Linked DNA regions of Homo sapiens: region 2 is linked to region 1. Evidence: promoter capture Hi-C in human tissues and cell types (Jung and others, 2019). All regions are on one chromosome and are shown on one strand. Each heading gives the region's core, a stretch centred on a gene start or on the middle of the fragment in contact. The rest is flanking DNA. Distances are from core to core; before and after follow the strand shown. Region 1 holds the start of TRERF1 (transcriptional regulating factor 1). Region 2 overlaps UBR2 (ubiquitin protein ligase E3 component n-recognin 2).

What was found. The method cuts DNA at HindIII sites, captures the fragments that hold promoters and counts their contacts. A contact is called where the count stands out against the background at its distance.
Region 2: a fragment that was not itself captured here is called in contact with the fragment with the promoter of TRERF1 in region 1 in 1 of the 25 tissues and cell types used here (bladder).

What each region holds. Positions count from the first base shown.
Region 1 is chr6:42,450,517-42,453,446 of GRCh38, forward strand. TRERF1 (transcriptional regulating factor 1) reads right to left here and starts at 1,410. Exons shown (of 18, transcript NM_001395490.1): 1 at 1,158-1,410; 2 at 661-745. It overlaps LOC124900214 (arf-GAP with GTPase, ANK repeat and PH domain-containing protein 2-like), which reads left to right and starts at 1,844. Exons shown (of 4, transcript XM_047419627.1): 1 at 1,844-2,930. The coding sequence starts at 2,305. LOC107986596 (a long non-coding RNA gene) reads left to right here and starts at 1,844. Exons shown (of 5, transcript NR_171668.1): 1 at 1,844-2,109. RefSeq lists silencers at 1,875-1,954, 2,425-2,864. The HindIII fragment of the contact is 3,351 bases long and covers 23-2,930 here.
Region 2 is chr6:42,606,375-42,609,137 of GRCh38, forward strand. UBR2 (ubiquitin protein ligase E3 component n-recognin 2) reads left to right here. Exons shown (of 47, transcript NM_001363705.2): 7 at 215-277. Among named protein-coding and RNA genes, the nearest start is that of UBR2, 44 kb to the left of the region's middle. The HindIII fragment of the contact is 7,960 bases long and covers 1-2,763 here.

The DNA of each region.
Region 1 (2,930 bases), core at 160-2,659:
CACACGGAGGAACCAGAAAGCGTTTTCTTGTAACCTAAGGATGGCAGGCGCACATGCTCCAGTCCAGTGCTGGCCAGAGGCTGCCTGCCAGGTGCTCTCGGCCTCCGCTGGTGAAGGAGTGGTTTGGTTGGTTTTTAATATCTGTTTCTTAAGACCACCGGCAGTAACTTCCCAGTCTCCCAAACTGAAGTTGGGGAGTGAAGGAACAGGTTTACCCCCTTACACATTTCTCCCATCTGGGTGGCCACACTAACTTCTGGGGAGTACCCAGCCCCCACAGAGCCCGCAGGCGCGTATACATACACATATGTATCATGTCAAAAACCCCAAAAGGCAGAGTCCTGCGGTTTCTTAGCTGGAGAATGAAGCCTTTATAACATCACAACCTCAAATGCAAGCCCACCATCACTACCTTTAAGCCAGGGTTGCCAATTATAGCGCCCACCTCATCCCTCCCCCTTTGCTGGGATGCTGTGCAGCCCGGAGAGGGAAGAAGGGAAGAAGGGAGAAGGCCTGCTTGCATAGTGAAAGTAAAGGGGGGGGAGACTTCTCCTTCTGTCTCCCCACTCTTCCCTCCCCACTTCGCCCCACCCCCGTCTTCTCGAGGAGCATCCCCAAACTAATTTTTTAAAAATGAAACTTAATAAGCTTCTTGCCTACCTTGGCTGTTTCTGCAACAAGTGCATGGGCAATCCGACGAGAAGACCAGTATCCGCTTGGGGGGTGAGATGGGGGGCGAGCAGAGCTGATGGAGTAATTTCAATATTAATTTATGTCAGCCGCCTTCTCTCAGCGCTACTCACTTACTGTACTGCCCTCAGCCTGTAAACAAATATCGCTCCGCCAGGAAACATACTCCCCAGATGCAAGCCCCTCTCCCCAGCAGGGAACCTGGCCCCTCGTCCCCCCGACAAGAGTGTGCTCCCCCACCCAGGGTAGGAAGCTTTGGGTTTCCAAAGCACCAACCCACCACCTCCTCCACCACCCCAGCAAGAAACTTACTCGGTCCGTCTACGCCTCCACCCTCCCTTCAGGAAATCTACTCTCCATATGCATTCAGCCTCCCCGCAGGAAATCTGCTCCCCCCTCCCCCCTTCTATATACATGCACCCCTCCCTCTCCTCCTCCCCATGCGCCCTCCCCGGCCAGAAACTTACTAGTGAGCAAGCGTGCAGGCTCTCCTGATGCTGGAAACTTACTCCCAGATATAGCGCCCGCCAGCCCCCTTTCCCAGCCCTGCTCCCCTTCCTGCCCTCCGCCGCAAGCAACTCCAAACTCTCCGCATCCAGCCGTTCTCCCTCCCCAGTGGAAATTTGCAGCGCCGGGCTGCGCGCGTGCATCCACCCTCCCCTTCAGGAAACTTACTCCCCATCTGCATGCACCGCCTCTCAGCCATCGCTTAGAGGGAAGGGGGTGTGCTGGGGAGACAGAAATACATATGTATCTCTCGCCCCTCCCCCGGTCGCAGCCCACTCGGGGCCGAGCCGCGGTAACCTGGCCTTACCTTTGCATTGCTCCCCATCCTCGCCCCCTCCCTTAACCCTCCTTATCCGCTCCCCGGTACCCCCCTTTTTTCACCCATTACCCACCCCTAGCAACCGTTCCCAAGCTCCTCTCGGCCTTTTTTTTTTTTTTAAATCCAGGATGCAAATTCCTCCCTTGTCAGCAAATCGACTGTCAAATTATTTTCTTGCAAAAGGAGAAAGGCGGGGTGGGGGGGGGGAGCAGGAGCAAAAAGAGGGGGAGGGCGGGGGAAGGGAGGGGGAAGGGAGGGAGAGGGACCGAGGAGGGGAGATATCCCTCCGCAGAGCTGGGTCTGGCCGCGGGCGGGGAAGCAGGAAGTAAGGTGTCCAGCGCCGCGACCGGCTGGTCGTCCGCCTCGGCCCCCGCCCGCGTCCCCTTTCCCCCGGGGCGCAGCGCTACGGCGGGCGCGGGCCGCCCGGCGCATTGTTCGCAGCCTTCGCGGCGGTGCGCTGCTGACTTTATTTGTGCGCTTTGCGTGTGCGTGAGGTTGCACCTTTTGTAGGCTGGCGAGTCTCTGGACGAGGATGGGACGGGGGACACGGGCCCAGTTGCGGCCCTGCGCGAGCGGGACCTGTCAGCCCTGAGGTGCAGCGGACCCTCCGGCATGGCCGGAAAATCGAGGCCGGGGAGAAGGCAGCGTGGCCGGGAAGCTGCCGCCTTAAACCCGGACCAGTGCAGGATTGCTTCCTGCGTAGCCGTCCCGGTTATTGTAACACGCTTTGCAAGCTAACGACTGGGGTTTGTGAGGGGGTTTGTTTATTTTTCTAAGTGTTTGCAAAGATGCCGAGGTCGAGGCGGGCTGCGAGGAGACGGTCCGCGCCTACCCCCACCGCACCCTGGCCTCGGTGGGGCTGGGAGAGGGCTGGGGCTCCGGAGAAGGGGCTGGAGGTTCGCGAAGCGCGCGTCTCCATCCCTCCGCCCCGATGGGGGCGGGGAAGGGGTGCAGTAGACCGCGCTGGAAGAGCAGCTCTCTGGGGAGGGGTCTCCCTTGCCGCGGCAGGCGCAGCAGGCCGGGGAGGGGGGTTGCCTAGGAGAGGGGCCGGGCGGCGGAGGGGAGGGGAGGAGAGGGGGCGCGGGTGCAGCCGCCGCGCGCGCTCGCCCCTCCTCGCGCGCCATGACTGTGGAACGTGGTGCCGGGGAGGAGGGACGGCCACCGGGGGCCGCCCGGGGCTGCTCGGCATTGGTGCGGAAACCCGAGCCCGGAGTCGCTCCCTCGCGCTGTCTCCTCCTCCTCCTCTGCGGGGGAAACCGCTGCACCCAAACCGGGAGCAGCTGCGAGCAGGGGGCAGGGCGCGGGCTGAAAGGCGAGCCGAAGGTTCAAACCTCCGCGGCGCGGGCGGGGGCGGAGGGCAACAGCAGGACGGCCCCCAGGTCCCGAGAAGGCGTGGCAGTGGTCGGCCCAGGTG
Region 2 (2,763 bases), core at 231-2,730, 160 kb after region 1:
TGTTTTGTTCAAGGAAATATTTATTAATGGCTTGGAAAAGTTAGCATAGCTTTGAAGGAAAATTTTAACTAACTTATCAATGAGTAGGATGAGCATTGTAAATATTGAAAATTGATCAGAATTGTTATATGCTTAAACATGTTTGTTTACTGGTTTAAAAGTTATTAATATTGAATACAATACTTTTACAGCTTAATTTTAAATATCTTTACAGGGGCGTAGGTCTGTTCGATATGGAGATTTTCAGTATTGTGAGCAAGCAAAATCAGTAATTGTGGTAAGTAATTTAAAAACATGCTTATATTATTTTTTATTAGTTTAAAACTAGCTTCATATTTCAGCATTTATGAACATGTCTTTCTGCTTTCTCAAATGAAAACCAAAAATTATGTTTAAAGATAATGTTTCTTAAATATTGCATTATTGTTTTATCTAGTTTTTTAAAGCTGTGTAGGATTGATATAGAAAATGAGTATTTAGATAAGATATATTCCCATTTCTCCATCAAAGCAGTCTTAGAATGTTTTTCGCTTTCTGTTTTGTTTTTAATTAGTAGAATTTTGTGTTACTTCTTAGAAATTTAAATGGCCTTAAGCACCATGATTATAATGCAAGCAAAGTTGTTTCTTGGTACCTTATGGCAAAATATATTCCATATCCTCATAGCAAGTAGTGTATCATCTTTCTAAAAGCACAAACTATTCTCCACATTTGGATTTATTTTTAGAAATTAGAATTTATTTTTCACCATTCCATGTAACTGAATTTTATGTAAATATTCTTTTTAAAAAATAATTTTATCTTTTTTTTTTTTTTCCGAATAGTCTCTGTTGCCCAGGCTGGAGTGCAGTGGTGCAATCTCGGCTCACTGCAACTTCCTCTGCCTCCTGGGTTCAAGTGATTCAGCCTCAGCCTTCCAAGTAACTGGGATTACAAGTGCACACAGCCACGCCCAGCTAATTTTTGTATTTCTAGTAGAGATGGGGTTTCACCATGTTATCCAGGCTGGTCTCAAACTCCTGGGCTCAAGTGATCCACCCACCTCAGACTCCCAAAGTGTTGGGATTACAGGTGTGAGCCACCACACCTCAAATTTCTTTTAAATATATAAAATAATATGGAGGCCCCTGTATTATTATCATTTTGTTGTTGTTGTTTGAGACAGAGTCTTACTCTGTCACCCAGGCTGGGGTTTAGTGGCATGATCTCCACTCACTGCAACCTCTGCCTCCTGGGTTCAAGCAGTTCTTGTGCCTCAGCCTCTTGAGTAGCTGGGAGGACAGGCATGTCCCACCACTCCCAGCTGGGAGGACAGGCATGTCCCACCACTCCCAGCTGTTTTTTTTTTTTTTTTTTTTTTAGTAGAGAAGGGGTTTCCCCCATTATCCTTTCTCCTTCCCTAGCAATAATTACTTTGCTTAATTTACTTTTTTCATTCTTGTGCGTTCCTTTATATTTCATATATTAAATATCCATCAACATTATATAGGGGTCTTTAAACATTATGTAACAAGATACATATTGAATGTATTACACTGCAGCTTGCCTTTTCATTTCAGTGTTGTTTTTAGGTTTATCTGTGTTGATAAGTGTTGCTGTAGTTCATTCATGTTTTAAACATTGTATAGTATTTCATGATGATTAAACCACAATTTATTTATTCTCCTGTTGATAGACAATTAGGATGTTTTCAGTTTTTTGCTGTGACAAATACTCCCGTTATGGGCATTATTTTGTCTCCTTTTTACATAGATACAAAAGTTTCCCTACGGTATATACCAAGAAATGGAATTTCTGAGTTTTTAGGGTATGGACATTCTCAGCTTTACTAGATTTTGCCTAGTTCATCTCCAAAACTGTGGTACTAATATACTTTCCCACCAGCAGTATATAAGAGGGCCTGTTTCTCCACATCTTTGTTAAAACTATATATTGTCAAATTTTTAAATTTTGCCAATCTGGGCCAGACACTGGGGCTCACATCTGTAATCCTGTAATCCTAGCATTTTGGAAAGCAGAGGCAAGAGGATCGCTTGAGGCCAAGAGTTTGGGACCAGCCTGGGCAACAGAGCAAGACCCCGACTCTACAAAAAAAAATTTAAAAAATTAGCCAGGAATGATGGTGCACACATGTAGTCCTAGCTACTCAGGAGGCTGAGGTAGAAGGATTGCCTGAGCCCAGGAGTCCAAGGGTATAGTGAGCTTTGATTACACGAGTACACTCTAGCCTGGGTGACAGAACAAGATCTTGTGTTAAGAAGAAAAAACAAAAAACAAAAAAAACTTGCCAATCTGATGTGTGTGAAATGGTAGTTCATCAGTTAAATTTGCATTTTCCTTGATTTTTAAGTATCTTATTTTATATTTGTTCTATTGGTCATTTAAGTTTTCTTTTTGGCAAATTTCCTATGCATATTCTTATTTTTTCTGTTGGATTGTCTTTTTCTTATTCATTTAAGTTTGTTGTGGTGCCTTTCATTGAGCAAAAACTTTAAATTTTAATGTAGCAAAAGATATATTTTTCTTTATAATTTGTATGTTTTATGACTTGTTTAAGAAATTCTTCCTTAATGTCTCAACATATTCAATTTAATAATGTATCAGAAACTGTACTTACAGATTATCAAGTAGGGAACAAACAATAAAATAGAAAATGGACAAAGGATATGAAAAGACAGATCATAACAGAAAATCTAGCTGGTCAATATACATGAAGTTAGAGTGATAAAATATCTTGAAGAGATGCAAAGACTGGGAATACAT